2 separate regions of the Homo sapiens genome follow, and region 2 is linked to region 1. Evidence: promoter capture Hi-C in 16 types of primary human blood cells and fetal thymus (Javierre and others, 2016). All regions are on one chromosome and are shown on one strand. Each heading gives the region's core, a stretch centred on a gene start or on the middle of the fragment in contact. The rest is flanking DNA. Distances are from core to core; before and after follow the strand shown. Region 1 holds the start of SPO11 (SPO11 initiator of meiotic double strand breaks). Region 2 has its middle 3.6 kb from the start of LINC01716.

The links. Contacts are between HindIII fragments. The CHiCAGO score rates a contact against its expected background, and 5 or more counts as called.
Region 2: a contact is called between a fragment that was not itself captured here and the fragment with the promoter of SPO11 in region 1, in 1 of 17 cell types (endothelial precursors). The highest score is 5.2, in endothelial precursors.

What each region holds. Positions count from the first base shown.
Region 1 is chr20:57,327,196-57,333,132 of GRCh38, reverse strand. It overlaps SPO11 (SPO11 initiator of meiotic double strand breaks), which reads right to left and starts at 3,330. Exons shown (of 13, transcript NM_012444.3): 1 at 3,135-3,330; 2 at 1,187-1,300. The coding sequence starts at 3,265. LOC105372687 (a long non-coding RNA gene) reads left to right here and starts at 3,469. Exons shown (of 12, transcript XR_007067670.1): 1 at 3,469-3,712; 2 at 5,030-5,175. It also overlaps the pseudogene RPL39P39. RefSeq lists an enhancer at 5,792-5,937. The HindIII fragment of the contact is 5,253 bases long and covers 1,252-5,937 here.
Region 2 is chr20:56,570,953-56,576,889 of GRCh38, reverse strand. No RefSeq gene overlaps it. Among named protein-coding and RNA genes, the nearest start is that of LINC01716, 3.6 kb to the left of the region's middle. The HindIII fragment of the contact is 258 bases long and covers 2,657-2,914 here.

The DNA.
Region 1 (5,937 bases), core at 2,081-4,580:
AAACAATATATACTTATGGTCTTCTGCACATCATTTAAAACCCACATTTCTTCTCAATTTAAGCACTGAAGCTTTAGGATCAACTGGTTTGAGAGCATAGATCATTCCAGGTGATAACTAGGAAATTAGGTTTGTGACATACAGAGGCACTAAGATAAACCATTTAACATAAATGAGCTAACACCTTTGATTAGGGGGTGTGGGAGTGTGTTTGTGTGTGTGCATACTTTTTTACTGGGAAGACATTTTTAGTGTATGTAAAATGTTTTCAAATATTTCACAATTAGTACTTTACTCATTTTAATAACCTACTCATTTAATAATTTTACTCAATTTAATAAGCTTTGAAATGTTTCATTTCTGATTTACCTGCAAAATTACATTACATAAAATAACAATTTTATTAGGTTAAGTTGAACTGCCAAGCTTCCCCTAAAGGTGGCAGAAGGCACCAGGTGGATATGTCAGGTGTAAGCTGCTTCAAAGCTAGATAAAATCCATCTTTCAAAACATGACTGAAAAGTATACAGCTTATATTACTTATATAGATCATAAAACAACAGTGATGAAGGAGACTCAAAATTCCTTTCATTTTGTTTCTGTATCTCTTAAAAAATATGAGAGGCTGGAAAAAACCGGTATAACTAGGTTCAAGAATTCTGATAAAGCTGTTTGCTGATTTTACCCTTTTTGGACACATGATTTAGCAGGGGCAGAAGATCTGTCAGGAGAAAGCCTTAAATGTGCTCTATGTTCAGGATACTTTTATTTTGGTCTGGTATCAGGATTGGTTATATTTCCCCTGAGCAAGTGGTTTGCTTTTGTGGCATATGTGAGAATTGCACCCATGACATCTCCCCCTCTGACTGCTAGAAAGCTTAGCTCCAAGTATGGTGCCTATTCTTAGCAAAATTATGAGACTTTATCACATGCATTTGGAATTCTAACCTCTTCTGGTGCTCCATTCTGTTGGTGCTAGCATTGTTTTCCTTTGCCTCATCTTTCACACCTACTTCTAGTTTACATAACCTCTCTGTATGGTATGTATTTCGTAAACTTCCTAAATCCTTTTTTTTGGCAAGGTAAAGGCAATAAAATGAAAAAAATATGACCAGAACTCTAATTCAAATAATTTTAATAATGACATAGATATTGCATTTAAAAAATAAAAATGCAAAATGCCCACTTTATGTTTTCCCAGCTTGATCTGTTGTCTATCGTGAATGCAGGTGCTTCATTTCTTGCCAAGCTTGTGATTATGTCTTGGATAATATTTTCTATAGATGCAAGAACCTCAGAACTGAAACAATAAACAGAGCATGATTCCATCTTAATCATAAATTTTGACTTTTTAATATGTAAGATTTTCCCAGATCAATACTAAAGTAACTTTTTATTTTATTCTTTTTTAAGACTAGGTAATTGGGGTGGGGTTTTAAAAAAAGACAAAAAAAAAGACTAGGTAATCCATGTCAATAATTATCTCTCCCATTAAACCTTTACTACTGCATTAAAACAACTGTATTTACAAATAAATTTCATTTGCTTGTAATTTTACTTCTCAAGCAATTACCAATGGAAGGTCTCCCTTTTACATTAATGACTAAATTTACAACTGTAATTTTATCATATTAACCTACTGTAATCTAGCTGAACTTGAATACAAACTAGACTTGACATACTACTGATATATGTTTTAATTAAAAAGTGATACAATATTGGCTTTGAATTTCTTTCCCAAAAATGCAATGCAAAAATTTCAAAAGAAACACCTTTTGTGGTCGCACATTACCCTAGTTGATCTCATGCCTTAAAATCGGCTCTTTTGAAATTTAGCGATACAAAAAGGAAAACGTTTAATCACTACCCTGGAAAGAATAAATTGTGAGTTCTGCAACAAACGGTTGACTTGGCAGCTATTACGCCACTCTACAGCAAAATGCGAAGACTAAGCCCAGTTTTCTGTCAGCTGACTGTTAATTTCACAAGCCATCAGCTGCAAAAAATGTTGTTCTGTTATAAACACCATGAGCTTATTGTCTAGGAAGAGAAATCAAATGCACTCTAGAAAACGGGCAAAATGTTGAGAGTTTTAATTTCCACAGGAACTTCAGAATTTTTACTGAAAACTTGTGTTTCAGAAAATGAATTTTAAAACATTTAATCTATTCTAATATTGGGAGGTAAAAACTGACCCAAATACTCATTTTTCCTAGTTTGGAGAAAAAAAGTGTTGCAGGATAATACTGTAACCAACTTTAAGATACAATCAGATTCGTCTACATCTGCGATATTAACAAGGGACTTGCCACTCTCCTTTTCCCTCACTCTCCCAAGTTCTCCCTCAAAATAAATTCTTTTGTAAAAATTGGTTTGTTTGTAGGTTTTTCAGATTTTTTGGTGGTTGGTTTGGGCTTAAAAATAAAAGGCTGAAAAACTTTGCTCAACCAAGAAAGCAAGTCGAGGAAACAAAATAAAGTATTTTTAAGTGAAAATGGTCAATAACGTAGTCATGTTTTCTGTGGTTAATTCTAACATGGATAGCTGGAGGGTTCCTGTAATTGATTTTAAATAAATCATTTAAAATATGTACATTCTCTCCACTTGCAAAACAATTAAACATGTTGTCTTATTATAAACCACTTAAAATGTGTTGATGTCCTTGTTAATTCTGAGAAAACCATTCGCTTACTGAGAGAAGACATACAACACTCATTTTCTTTCTAAAAAAAAACCAAAAAATAAAAACCAAAAAAAACCCTTAAAGTTTAACCAAAAATTTTATCCCAAAAAACGTTTAAAAAATACAAAGCTAACTGTACCCCAAACTCCCCAACCTATAAGGATCTTAGGAAACCTTCCAACCCAGCTGCAGGGAGCCTCTGGAACGTTCTAGAAGGGGAACATCCTAGAAGCCACAGAAGGGGGGCTGCCACCTGGCTTTCTTTTTTGAGTTCAAAATAAGGGTTCAAAGCAGGTCACGGGTACTCAGGAAGGATCTTTTTGGGGGTTCCTGGCTGGCCCGCCAAGGGGTGCCTCCTCAGCCTCAACACTAGGAGGCAGCCCGGGGCCAGGAAGAGCGCCCGACTTTTCTACAGAGTGGCTGCGTCGCGCCTCGGCACCAGCTCCTGTACCTGGAGGCCAGGCGGCTTCCCCCAGTTGGGGGCTCCCTGCCACCTCTCCTCAGGGCAGCCAGCAGGGACTCCCTGTGTCGGTCCAAAACGTCGAAGAACGAGGCCTCGGGCCCCATAGGTGCAAAGGCCATGAGGGCAGACGGCTGCCAGAAGCTCCAGAAGCCCCTGTCCTAGGCTGCGCCCTTGGGGCGTGGCTGCGTGCCTTTCCCGCGCTTTCTGAGCGGCCGGCGTGCCCACGCCACACACCCAGAGGCGGGGCTGGACAGGCGTATGCGTAGAGCACGGCGTGGAGTGCGCAAGCGCAGGGCTCTCAGGCGCGGTCCCACCTGTGAGGCCCTGAGGCGGGCGCCTCCCTGAGTGTGGGTCGCGCAGGCATCGGCCCTGCGTGGCTGAGCTGAGAGATGTTTGTGTGGCGTGCTGCGGATATTGGACCTAGAGTCCCTTGAGGTGATTTAATTATTTTGGGGGTTGGCTATTTAGGGACAGCAATATCAGCGATTTTTCATTAAAACACATAATGATGAAGATCCAGCTGTGTGGGATAACAGTTCTCGGCAATGGGTTCAGCTGTGATTGAGGTGAACGCAATCCCTGTCCTTACTAACGTTTCATAGCAGTTGAATGCCTCCAAAGCCCTTTGCACTCAGGTCCCTCTTCTAATTCCCTTAAGAACCCCAGGAAGTTCCTAACGTGTCATCCTAATTTTGCAGGTGCCAGGAAAGGTCAGCTCAGAGCAGGCAGGCCTGGGTTAAAATCCCAGCCCTCGCACTCCGTAGGGCAGACCAATTTGGCAAAGAAAATCCAGGACAACCAGTTAAATTAGAATTTCAGATAAACAGCAAATCCTTTTTTTTTTTTAGAGTAACTACGTCTCGTATAAAGTTTGGGATATACTTTTACTAAAAAGTTATTTTGTAGCCTTGCACAGTGGTACTCACCCGTAGTCCCAGCTACTAGGGAGGCTGAGGCAGGAGGATGGATTTAGAGGCTCCAGGAGTTGAAGGCTGCTGTGCGCTAGGATTGTGCCTGTGAATAGCCACTGTACTCCAGGCTGGGCAACACAGGGCGATCCCTTCTCAAAAAAAAAAAAATAGTTCTTTTTTTTTTTAAGTGAAAGGTCTCACATATTTATTACTGAACCCAGCCAACCAACGCATTCATCACAGATTCAGAGAGAAAAAATATATTCTCAATAAAACATGTACAACTCTCCAGAGAGCGGTGACATTTTCAGCTTGATGTGGTAACATGACTGTGACCTTCAGACAGCATAAATATGTGTGCCCTCTCATGTGCAATTCCTTATAGGCCCAGCTCGGTTCTTCTTCAATGTCTCCTTTTGGAGTTGTACCTGATTTTATTATCAGTTTTCATCCGAATCCACTGGGGACGATTTTGCTTTTGTTTCTTGGCCAGGAATTGCTTAATCCCAAAAGTCTTGTGGGAAAGACATGGCGAGAAGTGGAGTCAAGCACACACCACGATGGCAGAGAAAGGAATGTTATTTCATTGTTTATGTGAAATTCAAACTTAACTGGCATCTTGTATTTTATGTAGCTCCTCTCCCTCTATACCATGTCATCCCCTGACAGACTTGGTGAGTGGTGCCTTTCCCCCACTTGCTCCAAGCCTTCTAGAGCAGAAGATAGGAATTCTGAAGCCCAAGGAAAGGAGTCCTGACTTTGGGAAGGAGGAGAGGACAGTGGAGCGAGACCCTGGAACAAGGTGGTTCCAAGGCCTTTGGGGGCCTGGTCCTGCATGGGTGGGGTGCTGGGGCTTGGCCCCAGAAGAGCTACTTGGGAGAACTGTTTTGTTCTTTCCGTTCCTGGTAATTTGATAATTTTCCAACTAAAACTAGTTTCCCATCATAAATAATGCACTCCCTCTGTTCACAGGGATGGTTGCCTGTGTTGATGGCTGTTCTGCATGTACCAAGCACTGTGTTGATGGCTTTACATTGCTGTTATCACAAATACTTCCTCACTGCCTACCTTGCACCGGGCAAGGTTTATTACCGAGGACACAGCTGTGAACAAGGCAGGTAAACCCCTTCCTCTTAGGGAGCTCGGAGCCTAAAAGGAGGGGAGAACTAAAGGCAATCAGGTGAACTTTTTTTTTTTTTTTTGAGATGGAGTTTCGCTCTTGTTTCCCAGGCTGGAGTGCAGTGGCACAATCTCGGCTCACTGCAATCTCCGCCTCCTGGGTTCAAGTAATTCTCCTGCCTCAGCCTCCTGAGTAGCTGGGATTACAGGCAAGTGCCATCGCACCCGGCTAGGTTTTTGTATTTTTTAGTAGAGATGGGGTTTCACCATGTTGGCCAGGCTGGTCTCGAACTCCTGACCTCAGGTGATCCATCCTCCTCACCCTCCCAAAGTGCTGGGATTATGGGCGTGAGCCACTGCACCTGGCCAGATGAACTCTTACATAATTAAGTTGGCAGGGTAAGAAATGCACTGAAAATAAATCAGTGACTTTAAGAGGTGAAAAATAGTACACCCAATTCACATATGAAGAAACTGAGGTTTGGAGAAATTAACCCTTTTGTGTAAGATTGGACCTCCAGTAAGTGACAGAGCTGAGAGTTAAACCTTGACTCCAAATTCATGCTCTTAACCACTTGGATATGAGGCATCTGTGGGGGTCTGGCTTGGAGTGTGTCATCGTTCTCTGGGGGCTTTGGTGGTGGTCTTAGTTTTCTCATCTTTCAAATGAGGGTGTGCGGCAGGTGGGTTCTCATGCGTCATCCCCAAAGAGGAACAAACAAATGAAAGGATCTTGCAGGCCAGGAGGTCAATGACACTGT
Region 2 (5,937 bases), core at 1,536-4,035, 760 kb after region 1:
GCCTCAGCCTCCTGAGTAGCTGGGACTACAGGCATGTGCCACTACGCCTGGCTAATTTTGTATTTTTAGTGGAGATGGGATTTCTCCATGTTAGTCAGGCTGGTCTCGAACTCCTGACCTCAGGTGATCTGCCCACCTCAGCCTCCTAAAGTGTTGGGATTACAGGCGTGAGCCACCCCGCCTGGCCTAATTTTTGCATTTTTAGTAGAGATGGGGTTTCACTATGTTGGCCAGGCTGGTCTTGAACTCCTGACCTCAGGTGATTCACCTGCCTAGGCCTCCCAAAGTTCTGGGATTACAGGCGTGAGCCACCACGCCCAGCCATTTATTCATCAAATATTGATCTATCTCCTCCTCTGTGCCCAGCACTTGGGATACCATTAATAGTGGTGCAGAAAGATGTCAAGAGGAGGTCACAGCCACACTCCAGCTCCAGCCGTGTCCTCAGGCCACCCCAAATAACTGTAGTGATAACAATAACATAAATGAAACAAAATTAGGCAAGGCTGTGTTCAAACTTCAGGAGATGGGTTATGATTTAATTTTTGAAAGGCAGAAGCCAATTCTGTAATCTATCATTGGAATAACTGACCACTCATAGAAGAAGGAGGAGGAAGAAGGAGGAGTAGGAGGAGGAGGAGGGCAAGGGGAAGGGGCAGGGGAAGAGGAAGGGAGGAAGAGGACGACGCCAGGTGTGAGCCACCACCCAGCACTTTGAGAGGCTGAGGTGGGTGGATCACTTGAGGTCTGGGGGTGGCACTGGAGGTGGGAGAGGCAGGGAGGGGCTGGCTGGGAAGGGCTGTGTAAACCAAGTTAAGGAGGTTAGCTTCACCTGAAGAGCAATAGGGAGCGTGAAATGGTTTTAAGCAAGGGACTGGCTTGATTTGATTTTTATTCTAGAAAGATCTCAATGGCAGCAGCGTGAAAAATGGGGGCTGTCGATCACTTAGGAGGCTGTCACAGTGTCCAGGCAGGAGCTGATGGTGGCCTGGCCTAGGGTGGCAATGTGAGGATGGAAAAAGTGAGGTCTGAGGAGGGGAGGGTTTAGGGAGGAGGAGGAGGGAATCAAGCTTGGCAGCCAGGCACCAGGTGGAAGGGTGGCACCAGTGCCGGCTCCAAGGGAGACTGGGAGCAAACCAATGTGGAAGGCCCTGGACAGTCTGATTTAGGAAACACTAAGTGTGGAATGCCCAAGAGACAGAACAGGGGTATCCAGCAGGCCACGGACATGTGAGTTGACAGCAAGACCAGAGATGCAATATGGGAGTCTCAGCTTCTAGATTATGTTAAAAACCTTGGCCATGGATGAGACCATCCCATGAGAGTCTAGCTAGAGGGGGACCCAGGGCTTAGCCATGCAGAAAGCCAACATTCAGAGAACAGAAAGAGGAAAAGTTGGAAATGAAGACTGAGAAGAGATGGCCAGGGAGGAGGTGGGAAAGCCATGAGCGTGTTCCAGGAGAGGAGGGAGGAGAGCGCCCTGGGTCCGAGGAAGGAGGCAGGAGGATCAGAGGGAGGAGGCAGGAGGGTCAGAGGGAGGAGGCGGGAAAGCCATGAGCGTGCCCCAGGAGGGGAAGCAGGGGAGCACCCTGGGTCAGCTGCGTCAAGTGCAGCTGGGAAGACCCATCCCGCGAGGACATGGAAGTGCCTGTTGTACTGTGCACCGGGTATTCCTGGTGACCTTGACAAGAGTGAATCTGAGAGGAGGGACAGTGGGTGCCAAAGCCAGCTGGAAGTGGGCTGGAGAATGGACGGGAATTGAGGAAAGGAGGCAGGGGGTGCTGAGAAGTTTGTCTCTGAGGAAAAGCAGGAAAAAAGGTGGAGGGGGTGGTCGGAGGGGTTTCTGTTTTTGTTTTAATCTAGAAGCAGGTCTGTACACTGCTGAGTCACAAGGGAGAGGGAGAGATGGATGAGTCAGGAGAGGGAGAGGATCATTAGAGACTTGTAGTCCTTGAGAAGGTCAAAAGGGGTGGGATGAGGGCGCCCGTGGAGGACTGGCCTTGTGTAAAAGCAGGTGTGCTGTTTCTTCACAAGGGAGGAGAAACCCAGGGGAGAAGGGAACACACAGGGAAGAGAAGGCTGGGCTGGCTATGTGCCTGCACCCTTGGGCCCTGGAACTGGGGGGAAAGCCTCTCGGCATGATGTGGCTTGTTTCTGAAGTCTGAAGCAACTCGCCCAAGAGGTGAGTTGATTTGGCCCAAGAATGGAGACCCAGCCCAATGCAAATGCCATAGCTCACCTGCTCCAACGTTGGCAGCCTTCGGCCCACCTCCCTGCGAAGGCTGCACACAGCGGGTTCCACCCAGCCAGGGGGAAGCCAAACAAGGTCCTGGAGAAACAGTTGTTACCAAGGGCATTCTTTAGCAATCCTTCAGGTCTTGTCTCTGCAGACAGGAGATGAGACATTGACAAAGGGCCCTAATCCTCCCTTAATCCTGCCCACTGCCAACCATGAGCAAACTGCCTGTATTGCTTATTGAGTTACTTAAGAAAAGGTATCAACTGACTTTGGGCATTTAAGGAAGAAAGGGAGGGAGGAAGGGGGGCAGGGAGGACAGAAAGAGGAGCAAAGGAAGAAGATCCCTTAATGTCAGGATGTCTTAAGGGGAGAAGCTTCTGGAGTGACTTGTCCCACCCATCCACACACAGCCAAGCTTTGCAGCAGATGGAGGCACTGGCAGCTGCTCTCTAGCATGGGACCACAGGCCTACCGAGGCTCAGCTTGGAGATGCATCAATAGTCAAATCCTGGTGCAGTGCCTGCCTAAGCTCTGCTCTAAGTCGGCAGTAACTATCACACGTTCCCTGTATTGAGCACCAAGAATCAGGTGCTTCAAATGCTTCTCAACAACTCTGCAGTTACCCTCATTCTGCGGCGAGAAAACCAAGGCTCTGAGAAGGCCAGTGCCTAAGCTTGCCCAGCTAGTGAGAGGTAAACCCCGAATCTGAGCCCCTCTGAAGCAGAGGGAGGCAGGTTTGCAGAGCAGTTATGTGACTCTCTGTGACCAGGCTGCCTGGGTTTGAAGCTTTGACACTTGCTGGTGTGTGATATTAGAAAGGCCACTGTGTCCTCACAAATGGGGGTATGAAAAGGACCTGCCCCACAGGGTTGTTAGGAGGTTGAAATGAGTTCATACTAATAAAATTCACAGAAAATATCACAAGTGCTATGTTGCGTTTGGCTATTATTATTGGGAGGGTATTTCTCTACCTCCCAATCCCCATCAGCACCCCCGTATCAAGCCACGCCAGATAAGCATACAATCTAAATAAAAAATGTATGCTTTCTGGCCGGGCGCGGTGGCTCATACCTGTAATTCTAGCACTTTGGGAGGCGGATCACTTGAGGTCCGGAGACCAGCCTGGCCAACATGGTGAAACCCCATCTCTACTAAAAATACAAAAATTAGCTAGGCAGGGTGGTGGGTGCCTGTAATTCCAGCTACTCAGGAGGCTGGGGCAGGAGAATCACTTGAACTTAGGAGGCAAAAGTTTCAGTGAGCCGAGATTGCGCCACTGCCCTCCAGCCTGGGTGACAGAGCGAGACTCCATCTCAATAAATAAATACATAAATAAATGTATGCTTTCTAATTAATCCCTTCTTCCTTTACCCATAGAATTTCTAGAACAGTCAGTCTATTTGTATTCTCTTTGCTTTATTGGCTTCCAGCCTTCTATCCAGTCAATACTGCAAGATCCATTGAAATAATTCCTTTTTTTTTTTTTTTTTTTTTTTGAAACAAGGTCTCGCTCTGTTGCCCAGGCTGGAGTGCAGTGGCGCGATCATGGCTCACTGAAGCCTCAATCAGGCTCAAGCAATCCTCCTGTCTCAGCCTTCCAAGCAGTTGGGACTACAGGCATGCCACTATGCTTGGCTATTTTTTGTATTTTTTGTTGAGATGGTTGGGGGGAGGGGGTCTTACTATGTTGCCCAGGCTGGTCTTGAACTTCTGAGCTCAAGATGTCTACCTGCCTTGGCCTCCCAAAGTGCTGAGATTATGGGCATGAGCCACTGCATCTGGCCCAGCTGTTCTTTTAATTGTCTTTTTTTCCCTCCGTAAGGTTCTGCCCTCTTTTCTCTCCACTTTTCAAATACATCGTGGAGACCATCTCAGTGCAGAGGCATCAGCCTCGTTCGCTCTTTCTTTCCGTCCTTTTTTTTTTTTTTTGACAGATTCTCACTGTGTCACCCTCAGGCTGGAATGCAGTGGTATGATCTCAGCTCACTGCACCCTCCACCTCCCAGGTTCAAGTAATTCTCATGTCTCAGCCTCCCAAGTAGCTGGCATTACAGACACGCATCACAACATCAGGCTAATCTTTGTATTTTTATTAGAGATGGGGTTTCACCATGTTGGCCCAGCTGATCTTGAACCCCTGAACCTCAGGTGATCTGCCTGCCTCAGCCTCCCAGAGTGCTGGGATTACAGGTGTGAGCCGCCACACCCGGCCAGCCTTGTTCTTTCTTAAAGGGGCATCCTATTGCCCCACTGACTGGATGCTTTGCAGCTTATTGCACAATCTCTAGTTGGTGGAATTTAGGTGGTTTCCCGCCTTTTGCTATTACAAATAGCATTGCAATTAATATCCTTGTAAGTAGAGCATCTCAGGCTTTGGGGGAACTGTCTTTAGGACAAATTCCTGTAAGTAGAACTGTCTGGCGATGAGTTTTTGTAATGGGAATTTTGCTTTGTATTGGTATTGTATTTGTATTTTGCTTTGTATTGTATTTTGCTTTGTAATGGGAATAGAGTGGAGGCCAACTCTGAGCACACCCATCTCTGCTAAGTCTCTGGTTTCAGTCACTCAGCAAAACTGCTACTAACAGACATAAAATGGGCACTTGCCATGTGCAAAGCATGGTCCCAGCTTCTGGGCAGAATATCAAGACAAATGGAATGAGATATGAATAAGCAATACGGCTCAAGAAAGGTACCAAGCTCACTAATAGCTTCCATTTTGTTCATCTATCAGCCACACACAGGTCACCTTCTTATTCTTAATTTCTCAGCAGCCTTTGAAATTGTGGAGCGGTGCCTCTTTGAAACAATAACGTCACTTGGTTTCTTGGATCTTTCGATTGTTTACCTTTGTTAGTTGTTCATCTGCCCAACTCTCCTAAATATTAGTACTCCTCAAAATCCCTTGCACAAAGTTTTTATGAGTATCAGGTGAGATAATGAAAGAAAGTAAGATTTCATATAGGTGTGAGCAAATTTCTAGAAATGTCAGAACATTTTCCTCTTTATCTCATTGCCCATAATTGCATTCTGTTAAATTAAAGTAAATTCAGGCCCAGTGCAGTGGCTCATGCCTGTAATCCCAGCACTTTGGGAGGTTGAGGTCAGGAGTTCGAGACCAGCCTGACCAACATGGTGAAACCCCGTCTCTACTAAAAATACAAAAATTAGCTGGGTGTGGTGGCATGTGCCTGTAACCCCAGCTACTTGGGAGGCTGACACAGGAGAATCGCTTGAACCGGGGAGGCGGAGGTTGCGGTGAGCCGAGATTGTGTCATTGCACTCTAGCCTGGACAAGAAGAGTGAAACTCCGTCTCAAAAAAATAAATTAAAAAAAAAAGTAAATAAAAGTGTGTGGCAGTTCCCCCTTCACTATATCTTTCTCCTGCCGCCATTGTGAAGAAGGTGCTTGCTTCCCCTTCACCTTCTGCTGATTGTCAGTGTCCCAAGGCCTCACAGTCATGCTTCCCATTAAGTTTGCAGAACTGTGAGTTAGTTAAATTAATTTTCTGCATAAATTACCCAGTCTCAAGTAGTTCTTTATAGCAGTGTGAGAACAAACTAACACAGAAAATTGATACCAGGAGTGGGGTTTTACCATGTTGGTCAGGCTGGTCTCAAACACCTGACCCTCAAGTTATCCACCCATCTTGGCCTCTCAAAGTGCTGGGATTACAGGTGTGAGCCACTGCTCCTGG